Regions from separate parts of the Homo sapiens genome. Here all the other regions are linked to region 1. The links are contacts of gene promoters, found by promoter capture Hi-C in human tissues and cell types (Jung and others, 2019). All regions are on one chromosome and are shown on one strand. The core of a region is centred on a gene start or on the middle of the fragment in contact, and the rest is flanking DNA. Distances in the headings are between cores, read along the strand shown. Region 1 holds the start of DPM1 (dolichyl-phosphate mannosyltransferase subunit 1, catalytic). Region 2 overlaps NFATC2 (nuclear factor of activated T cells 2). Region 3 overlaps ATP9A (ATPase phospholipid transporting 9A (putative)).

Region 1 (3,390 bases), core at 891-3,390:
AGGATATCGAGACCATCCTGGCTAACACAGTGAAACCCCGTCTCTACTAAAAAGAACCCGGGAGGCGGGGCCTGCAGTGAGCCAAGATGGCGCCACCGCACTCCAGCCTGGGCAACAGAGCAAGACTCCGTCTCCAAAAGAAAAAAAAAAAAAAGAAAAAGAAAAAAGAAACAAATACAAGAAAATCAACCAGAAAACATATTCCACTGTTAAAGGCTTTAACAAGTCAGCCCCAGCAAACTTTGAAGACAAGAAAGCAAACCCCTGTGTTATCTATTCTCCAAGAGTAGAACAATGACTTTGGCTTCCCACTGTGCCTTAAATCTGGGCACTGGTGCCTTTACATGCCAAAATATGTAAGGTGATTTTAATAGACGTGCTGAAAGAGAAATTCCATAAACAAAATGGGGTCGTTAAAAGCAAATTACTGTCCCCTACCACTTCAAAGCAGCTACACCACCTGAGGGTGAGGCAGCTCAAAGGTACCAAGCTGGGCTGACTTCAAGTAATTTGATTGCATCTGAAAAGTTTTGTTTCCTTTATCAAACTTCATTTTGATCTTAAAAGATTGATTCACAAACCATTAAAAGGAAACATAAATTGTACTACATAAAAAAATTAAAACAGCAAAAAAAAAAATTGCAAAATTAGAATACAAGCCCTGAACGAGATCGGTTGTATGATAGTTACTTTCTTTAATTTAGAGCTTATAGAAATCAAAATTAAAAGATTAAACAGGAAAAATAAAAATTTTAAAACTCTGAGGGGCAAGGCATATGAAGGCAGTTATTCAAGGAAATACAATCAAAACAGCAATGGTTTTCACAAATGAGTACTTCCAACAATGTTAAGTCTAATGCTCAGGCGGGCTGGTTGATAGGGAAACAGGCACTCTGAAGAATGGAGAGTCCAAACTTGTACAACCTTTTTTTTCTTTAGAGCAATTTGGCAGTAACTGTCCATTTTAAGCACATTTCTGTCGACCCAGCAATCCTACCTCGAAGAATTTATCCCTAGTACACAAGTAAAAGTATGAACGCGTCTGCTGCCAACACTGATGCAATAAAGGAGCACCGCTATGTGTCAAGCACTTTTCTAAATTTAGCTGGAAAATATGGTGTGAACAAAGTCCTTGTTCTCATCGACAAAGCAAAAGCCAAAAAACAGAAACAACCAAAAGGCGCTGGAAATAATCCAGTTCATTGCCATGACCTGATTAAATAAATAACACAGCCATATGGAATGTTACCTAACTTCCAAAGTAATTTGCTATGTTTGTACATGTTAATATGAGAAAAAGTCTTCAAAGATTTCACAGCATGATCCCATTTGTGCAATCGTAAAACAAGTTACTTCGTACTGACTCCAGGATTTTTTGCAGTTTTTAAAAACACTGCATTAACACTTCCAAATTCGAACTCCACCCACCCCCCATCCCGGTTCTAACAATCACACCAAACATCCACCAGTGATCAGCGAAGATGCTCTTCTGCTTTCTCCTTTCCAGAAAGGTTATCGTGCCCAGCAATAGCTCCCTAACCCACACACACCAAACCTCATGCTTATGTAAGCACTCGGCACCGGAGCGGAGAGTGAGAGCTCTCGCTTGGACTCCCGGCTCTTGCCGCAGATCCTGACCGCCTAGAGGGAGGAGTGGGATCACGCTTTCAGCCTCGCTTCCAAGTAAAAGAGTGGCCAACCTTTCTACGGAAAGGCGGGGGACGGGAGTACTACATAATAAAGATAAATGAGAGTCTCACAAAACCCAAGGGCAGGAATGAGAACCCAGGACACGAAGAAAACCCAACAAGCATCCGCCTCTGCTTCCCTCGCAGGGTGGCCCTCTCCCCGGGCCTTCCTGTGTGAGGCAAAGAAGGCTGGACAGGGCCGCTTCGCGCAGCCAGCTGCCGACACCCGGGCCGGGGAAGCCAGCTCATCTCATTCTTCGGGGAGGGAGACCTGGTGCGCTACCTCTCGGAGAAGCTTTTCACCAGCAGCCACACGATGAGCGGCAGGTTCTCGCGCTCGTTGTAGGTAGGTAAAAGCACCGAATATTTGTTCTGTCGTGGACTGCGCACTTCCAGCTCCCGCCGAGACCTGCGAGGACTACGACTGACTTCCAAGGAGGCCATGGCGGAACTGAGCCAGATGCCGGAAGCGGAATTACGTAATGTGGCGCGGAAAAGGACGGGTCGGACCGTACCAAATTCGGAAGCGGGGGATGACCTGTGTGATTGATCGCTAGTTCTTCTAGGGCCATTGCGTGGTTCAATTAGAAATATTCTGGATTTATACATCTTTGAAGTTTAATCTGAAGGTTTCTTCAGGAAGTAAATATCTATTCATCACCTTTTCCCAAGCTCCATAAAGTTTTTTAGTTTATCCCAGTCGCTAGGAGACAGAAGACGGAAGCGGAAATGCCTTTCACGACAACTTCCGGAAGAGGTCGCCATGGCTTCCCGGGAGGAGGTACTCGCCTTACAAGCTGAAGTTGCCCAACGTGAGGAGGAATTGAATTCGCTGAAGCAGAAGCTGGCGTCGGCTCTTTTGGCTGAGCAGGAACCGCAGCCAGAACGGCTGGTTCCGGTGTCGCCGCTGCCGCCGAAGGCCGCTCTGTCCCGAGATGAGATTCTGCGCTATAGCCGGCAGCTAGTGCTGCCCGAGCTGGGCGTGCACGGACAGCTGCGCCTGGGGACCGCGTGCGTGCTAATCGTGGGCTGCGGTGGGCTCGGCTGTCCACTAGCGCAGTACTTGGCAGCGGCCGGCGTGGGCCGCCTTGGCCTTGTGGACTATGACGTGGTAGAGATGAGCAACCTGGCCCGCCAAGTGCTGCATGGCGAGGCACTGGCTGGCCAGGCCAAGGCCTTTTCGGCCGCCGCCTCGCTGCGCCGCCTCAATTCGGCAGTGGAATGCGTGCCGTACACTCAGGCCCTTACGCCAGCCACTGCCCTAGACCTGGTCCGCCGATATGATGTGGTGGCTGACTGCTCGGACAACGTGCCCACTCGCTACCTGGTTAATGACGCATGTGTGCTGGCGGGTCGGCCCCTCGTGTCTGCCAGTGCCTTGCGCTTCGAGGGCCAAATCACAGTCTACCATTATGACGGTGGCCCTTGCTATCGCTGCATATTCCCCCAACCACCCCCAGCGGAGACAGTGACCAACTGCGCGGACGGCGGGGTGCTCGGTGTCGTTACCGGGGTCCTGGGCTGCCTGCAGGCCTTGGAAGTGCTGAAAATCGCTGCGGGTCTGGGCCCCTCTTACAGTGGCAGCTTGTTGCTCTTTGATGCCCTGAGAGGGCATTTCCGCTCTATTCGGCTGCGGAGCCGCAGGCTCGACTGTGCAGCTTGCGGGGAACGGCCCACTGTGACTGATCTGCTGGACTATGAA
Region 2 (3,574 bases), core at 469-2,968, 540 kb after region 1:
CAGTGCATGAACTTAATATGATCCCATTTTTGCACAAGACTTTTCTGCATTTTTCACCCCAATATTACTTGGCTGAAACCCCCGGTCCAGCCCCAGACCACCCTTGTTCAATCCCTGCAAACAAGGCCACATTTGGGTACTCATGGCTTATTCCACGCCTCCCCCCATGATAGACGTTCGCCTGAGCCCAGCCTCTGCAGCCACCGCCTTCCACCAAAGCAGATCCTTCCCCCTCCTTTGCTCACGGAGGAGTGAGGGGGAACTGCTGAGAGGAGGGGCAGATTGGCCAGGGAGGGGGCGATTGAGAACAGGAAGAAGATGGGGTGAGATCTGAGAGGCACGCTTTGGACACAATAAACAAGCCTGCTGCCTTGTTCAGAAAGGGACCCGGGACCCCCAATCCCACCAGAGCCCTAAAAGCATTAGTTCAAAGTTAAAGTTAGATACACGCAAAGCTGCAGCCCCCGGGGGAACTCAGAGCTCAAAAACAATACTCTCTTTGACTCAAAAACCACAAGGGAACACCCACGGCATACTTCTTGATTAAAAAAGGAAAGTGAAAAATAAGGTTTTCTTTTTTTCCTTCTTAATCATCATAAAACTAACTTGTGCCTATTCCATCAAGTCACGACTTCTGTTGGCCTCAAGCGAGCCCAATTCATGTTGGCCACAGACACGAGGGGCCGGGAAGCTTGGGCATGTCCTAGTGAACTGAACCGGTCCTTCTGAATGGTTGTCATTTCCTTCCTCTGCTTCCTTTAGCACAGGAAAGCCACCAAGGAGCCGCCTACGCCAGCACATCCATCACCCAGACTCCCAGGGCACTGTTCATCTGAGAGGCCAGACACAGCGGGGCTCACCAAAGCCTCAAAGCAGCAGCAACAACCTCTCAACCGCTGTTCTTGAGATAGATGAAGTACCTACTATGTGACAGGCACTGTGCTTGGGACTGGGGATGAAGCAACGATGAAGGAGATGAAAGATGAATGTGTGGCAGGGGGGTGGATGAGTAGGTGGGTGAAGGGGTTGGAAGGGAGGAGGAAAGGAAGAGAGAACATATATCAGGCTATGGAAAAAAAGAAACAAACAGAGGCCAGGCATGGTGGCTCACGCCTGTAATCCCAGCACTTTGGGAGGCCGAGGCAGGCAGATCACTTGAGGCCAGATCACTGGCCAACATGGCGAAACCCCATCCTTACTAAAAATACAAAAATTAGCCAGGCATGGTGGCATGCACCTGTAGTCCCAGCTGCTCAGGAGGCTGAGGCATGAGAATTGTTTGAACCCAGGGGGTGGAGCTTGCAGTGAGCCAAGATTGAGCCACTGCATTCCAGCCTAGGCAACAGAGTGAGACTTCATCTCAAAACAAACACCTAAGTAGAAAGACAGATGATGGCAGGAGAGAAAGGGGATCTATTTTGGTAGGAGAATCAGGGGAAGCTGCTTTGAGGAGGTGACAATTGAGCTGACAGCTGAATGAAGCAGAGAAAGTAGCCATGTGGATAGCTGGGAGGAGTGAAAGGCACGTGCAAAGGCCCTGAGGCAGGAGCCTACCTGGAGTGTTTGAGGAATAGCACAGAGGCCATTAGCAGGTGGGAATGGAGTGAGGGAGTGAGTGAGTGAGGAAGAGAGGCAGGCAGGGACCGGGTGACACGGCCTGGTCCACGGTGAGGAGCACAAGGCTACTCTGCATCTATACTCCGGGAGGGGAGACACAGGAGGGCTCAGAATGGGGGTGGTGTAGACCAAGGTACACTCTGAACAGATCCTCTGGCAGCTGTGTGGGGAGCAGATGAATGAAGGGTGCAAGTGGAGGCAGGGAAACCAGTTAGGAGGCTGTCACCCAGACAAGAGATGATGCTAGCTTGGCCCCAGGTGACAGAGGGGAGGAGGTAAGAAATGGTTGAGCACCCTACCCCGAGCCCAGCTCCCACACAGATGCACAGAACTGTGAGGAAGGCCAACAGGCCAACTGGATGCCCATAAAAGATCACAAGGCAAAGAGAAGCAGATGAGAAAGAGAAAGAGATTCAAAATCTAAAACGCGGCCGGGCACGGTGGCTCATGCCTATAATCCCAGCATTTTCGGAAGCCAAGGTGGGTGGATCACTTGAGGCCAGGAGTTCAAGATCAGCCTGACCAACATGATGAAACCCGTCTCTACCAAAAATACAAAAATTAGCCAGGCGTGGTGGCTAATACCAGCTGCTTTGGAGGCTGAGGCAGGAGAATCGCTTGAATCCGGAGGCAGATGTTGCAGTGAGCCGAGATCGCACCACTGCACTCCAGCCTGGATGACAGAGCAAGACTCCATCTTAAAAAAAAAAAAAGAAAGAAAGAAAGAAAGAAAAAGAAATCTAAAACACTTCTGCTTCCTACCTGTAAAAGCTTTACCTCAGGCAAGTCACATTTCTCTGGGGCTCAGTTTTTTCATTTGTAAGATAGTAGAACCCAATTCATGGGGTTACAATGGTTAATGCAAGTCTTCTCTTAATGTCTGGCCTATTGTACATGCTCAATAAGTAATACTTTTCTAACCTCTGCCTTTAATGATCTGAGTCGTGGCTCTGCCAATTTAGTTGCTGTATTATCTTTATATTAAAATTTCATATAATCTCTCTGAACCTCTATTTGGCCACCTGAAAACTGATCATGACAGTACCTACCCTCAAGTACTCAGTATGAGATTGAATGAGACAACTTTAGTTTAGCAAAAGGTCTGGCACGTAGGAATCCCTCAATAAAATGATAACCAGAGCCCTCAGTAAAATGGTAGCTGAAACCCTCAGTAAAATGATACATGAATCAGACACACCAGTCATCCAACTAGATGATTTCTAAGTCTCCTTCTAGCTCAATTATCCCCAAACTCTTTAAAAAAAATTTTTAATAGAAAAAATGACAGCTTAACAGCTTCAAGTCCCTGAATGAATCAACCCTGGAGTTGCAAGTTAAGGCAACCCAAGTTGAAGAGAAGTTGGAACTCCCACCTCAAAGTGAACAAAACTAAACATAGGCACTTCTACTTGGGTGATACCTATTACTCTGAGTCATAGAATTAAGTAAGTTTAGAGGTAGGAGGGAACTTACAGAGCCCTACCCACTCGTTTTAGGGCAGAGGCTCCTACAGCTCAGTGAGAAGTATGTGGGCTGAGGTTGCACAGCGAGGCTCAGGCAGAAGAGGAAGCCAAGAATGCTCCCACCCCTCCACCCTCACCCTCACCACCCCCCCCTCCACCCCCACCCTCACCACCACCCCACTCCCACCTCCACACTCACCACCCCGCACCTCTACCCTCGCCCTCACCCTCACCAACCCCCACCACCCCCACCCTCACCACCACCCCACCTCCACCTTCACACTCACCACCCCGCACCTCTACCCCCACACTCACCACCCTCACCCCCACCCCCACCCTCACCCTCCCAGGCAGTCTGGTCAGTCAGAGGGTGAGAAGGAGGAACCAACAAAAGCTCCATCCAAAAGAAAGGAAAAGAATGGAGTGGGAAGTGTTTTAGACTAGCAGAAACACCTTTCTTGCTATCAGAGTTCAACACAAACACCTTAAGGGGC
Region 3 (3,783 bases), core at 86-2,585, 640 kb after region 1:
TTCAAAAATGCAAATATCCAAGAGCAAATAAATATTCATCTCTCACCCTCCCTGCCTTTTTTTTTTCCTTTTTTTTTTTTTTAACTAAGTCCAGCAAAATATTCTGGTCAACAACATGAAAAGAAATGTCTGTTTTTCACGGAGCCTCTGGCCATGAAATAAATTCTGAAGCTATGAAAGCACAGTCTTGAAACTCAGGGCAGTTGGGCACGTGGGGTCCGGCTGGTTGTGGAAAACAGGAAACAGCAATGTCTTTCAGTCCTCAAGTTCCCCCTAGCGGCTCCGGCGGAGGAGTGTCCGCACATGGACGGAAGTTCACTGCAGGCAAATGCAGAGGCTTAAGGTCGTGCAGGGATAGCACACGTTTAAGGGAAAGCATGGTCGGTCCCTACCTTTGAAACCACATACCTTCCTTTTGCTGCTGTCATGAGATAACACAACTAAGTTACAATTATCTTTCTAATCTATATACTGAGGATGGCCCTTTCCATTGAGAACCAAAAAGAGGGAACCAGCAGCTCACACTGCAGACAGCCACTAATTACACCATTTGGTATAGTATTTGGTATAGTAGGCGGAGGCATAACTTGCTTCCTGAGACACACGAGCTTATACCTCCGGGCCCTTTTACAAATACAGACAGACAAATGGTACAGCTGACACGTGCCAATTAAATTAGGGTTTCTCTGGCTGGGCGTATGGGCTCATGCCTGTAATCCCAGCACTTTGGGAGGCTGAGGCAGGCAGATCACCTGAGGCCTGGAGTTCGAGACCAGCCTGGCCAACATGGTGAAACCCCGTCTCTACTAAAGATACAAAACTTAACCGGGCGTGGTGGCAGGCCCAGCTACTCAGAAGGCTGAGGCAGGAGAATCGCCTGAACCTGGGAGGCGGAGGTTGCAGTGAGCCAAGATTGCACCACTGCATTGCAGCCTAGATAACAGGGCAAGACTCCACCTCGAAAAAAAATAATTAGGGTTTCTCAATGTTGGCACTTTTGACACTTTGGGCTCTGTTGTGGGGGCCACCCTGTGAATCACAGGGTGTTCGGCAGCATCTCTTGCTTGTAGCACTCCTCTTCCCCGAGTTGTAACAACTGAAAAGGTCTTCATACCGCCACGTGTCCCCCAAGGGACAAAAATCACCCAATTGATTTCAACTACTTCCTACACAAAAGCTTTTTTTGTTTTGTTTTGTTTTGAGACGGAGTCTTGCTCTGTTGCCCAGGCAGGAGTGCAGTGGCACAATCACGACTCACTGCAGCCTCGACCTCCGAGGCTCAGGTGATTGTTCCGCCTCAGCTTCCCAAGTCGCTGGGACCACAGGCTTGAGCCAGTACACCCAGCTCGTTTTCTTGTATTTTTTGTACATGAGTTTCACCACGTTACCCAGGCTGGTCTCAAACTCTGGGCTCAAGCAATCCTCCTGCCTTGGTCTCCCAAAGCTGGGATTACAGACATGAGCCACTGCGCCGGGCCTTAAAAATTTTTTCTGCCTAAAACTTAACTGACTGTTCCTATATGTTCCATCCCTCGATAAAAAAAAAAAAAAAAGATTCCAGTCATCGAGGACCGTGTATAGAAATACAATATGAAGCTTATGGTTTTCATCTTATTTTCCATTTATATCTATCACCTTTTGAAATTCTGACACGTCTGGGATGGACAATAGTACAAAATAATAAATAACATGCATTGATTTGGGGTTTTTTTTGCCAAAATCAAAATAATTTTCTGAACTGGAAAGAGTTTTCTTTACATTTCATGTACCATGAAATAAAGAAAAAATAGGAGCGTTATAATAAAAAGTCCTCATTTTGATACCAGAATTCATGTTTCTGTACAAATTAAAATAATCCCCCAAGGCAGAACGTACACAAGCTTTATTGGGCAACAGCAACGAGCCACGCTGGCAAACAATGAAAGTAGAGTCGCTCAGAAACACGAAAGATCATATGTGTGTCATCACAGCATCGAGAATTTAAATCATCTGGAAGTTCCTGCTAAATTAAAGCATACTGTGCCAGAGCTCCCCTCTAATCAAAAAACGCTGTCCTGGTGAAAATTTGCAATGAGGATTACAGAGAGAGAGATCAACCAATGAGGAAATCACAGACTCTTACATGAGTTTACAGTTAACCCCACTGCAACAAAATAATAAATTAGCCATAATTTGTTTTTTTTGCAAATACCATGCCCCCCACCTGACCCCACAAACACAACAGTCACTGACATGGCCCAGCTATATTAACAGACTGCGCCTCAAACCATGCTGTGGCGGAGAAGACAGATTCACGGGTAATGCCGCTTTGGCCTGAGAAGATGCTTCGGAGCTCCAGGTGGAGGAGCTGCTCACGCTGCAGGATGCTTTGCAGGTTCATTCAAAACCAAATTTTTTTCCAAGAAGAACTGGACATAATTCATGGGAATATTTTAAGTATATATAAGTGGCAAAAAAGCTGTACATTAAAAGAAGGGGGAGAAATAAAATGTGTTGTATTTACAAAGCTCTTTGTATATTTTTTTAAATGAAAACAAAGCTGGGAGTGATAGAATTTTAATGCAATGAAAACCAAATAATTCTTCAAAAAACTTTAGATGACATCATTCTCTCGCTCTTTCACACACACACACACCCCCCACACACTTCAAACATACAGAAAAGGTTAAAGATAAAAATAGCTGATAGGTGTTTAAGTAGGATGGAGCAGAAGAATGTACATGTCCCATTTGCAATTTTGGCAAAGGTTTAAAATGCTGCCCTAAAGGCACGCACGCATGCCCAGCCTACCCCAGTAAAAACAAGACAAAGTATAAAAAGAAAAGTCTGGCGGGGGGTGGGGGAGGCATTAGCATATCAATTTCCAATGAGCACAAAATTCAAAATACATTAAAAAGTAGCATGGCTTACATTTTCAGCAGAGAAGAAACTGAGGAAATGTTCATAAAGAGACAATGATTTTTAAGATTTACTGTCACAAAAAAAAAAGGGTTTCACTTCAGGGGAGTGGAACTGGGATGGGAATTTTACAATGCTAGTTCCAGCACGTGGTCTAATGGCCCCAGGGGCTGGAAAAGGGAGGTCTGCTCCAACTTTAAGATGCGCCCTTGGGATGCCTTCCAAGCAGCTGGAGTTAGTGCCACCTGTCTCACCTGGCACCACAGGCAACACACATGTGCACACGCATGCTTTCAAAATGAGGATCAAAACTGTCCCACATAAGAAATTACTCAAGATGGAAAAACTAGTCTGGTGATTTTCTTAGAGAAAAAAAAAGAGAGACAAAAAGGAAGGGGTGGGGGGAGGGGAAGAAACCAAATAGATCCTGCTTCCCCCTGTCACACAACCATCATCAAAAGACATATGAACAATAATAAAATAGTAATAGAAGTTCTTACTCTGGCAGAAATAGCTAGTGTTGTCAGAGGGCGCAGGGAGCTGTGAGTTTTGCTTTCAGGAAAAGTGTTCAAACAGTGCTGACTGTGTACCTCAAGGCCCTCTGACCTCAAATTAAATTGGCTGTCAAAGACTTACGGCCCATGGAGCTCCCAGGTGACAGTGTCAATGGCGCTTTATGTAAGTTCTTTCCAGATTGATGAACCAAGAAAAAGGTCAACTGAATCCTTATGCTTAAGGTTTACAAACTCAGGAGAGTTTCTTGTATAGTAACTCTAGTTTCTTGTTTGCTTATTTCTTTGTCTTCCCCACCACAACTAAGATGACCTCCGAGAAGTACCCAGGCGCCCCTGGGGTTCTCTGCTGGGCTTACAGTCTGATTGTGCA

Evidence for each region. The method cuts DNA at HindIII sites, captures the fragments that hold promoters and counts their contacts. A contact is called where the count stands out against the background at its distance.
Region 2: a fragment that was not itself captured here is called in contact with the fragment with the promoter of DPM1 in region 1 in 1 of the 25 tissues and cell types used here (heart right ventricle).
Region 3: a contact is called between a fragment that was not itself captured here and the fragment with the promoter of DPM1 in region 1, in 2 of the 25 tissues and cell types used here (dorsolateral prefrontal cortex and mesendoderm cells).

What each region holds. Positions count from the first base shown.
Region 1 is chr20:50,956,392-50,959,781 of GRCh38, forward strand. It overlaps DPM1 (dolichyl-phosphate mannosyltransferase subunit 1, catalytic), which reads right to left and starts at 2,141. Exons shown (of 9, transcript NM_003859.3): 1 at 1,972-2,141. The coding sequence starts at 2,132. MOCS3 (molybdenum cofactor synthesis 3) reads left to right here and starts at 2,427. Exons shown (of 1, transcript NM_014484.5): 1 at 2,427-3,390. The coding sequence starts at 2,452. RefSeq lists enhancers at 1,898-2,387, 2,600-3,210. The HindIII fragment of the contact is 10,279 bases long and covers 1-3,390 here.
Region 2 is chr20:51,497,425-51,500,998 of GRCh38, forward strand. All of the region lies in intron 3 of NFATC2 (nuclear factor of activated T cells 2), which reads right to left. Among named protein-coding and RNA genes, the nearest start is that of NFATC2, 44 kb to the right of the region's middle. RefSeq lists an enhancer at 148-277. The HindIII fragment of the contact is 3,016 bases long and covers 211-3,226 here.
Region 3 is chr20:51,594,911-51,598,693 of GRCh38, forward strand. ATP9A (ATPase phospholipid transporting 9A (putative)) reads right to left here. Exons shown (of 28, transcript NM_006045.3): 28 at 1,604-3,783. Among named protein-coding and RNA genes, the nearest start is that of NFATC2, 54 kb to the left of the region's middle. The HindIII fragment of the contact is 3,944 bases long and covers 1-3,307 here.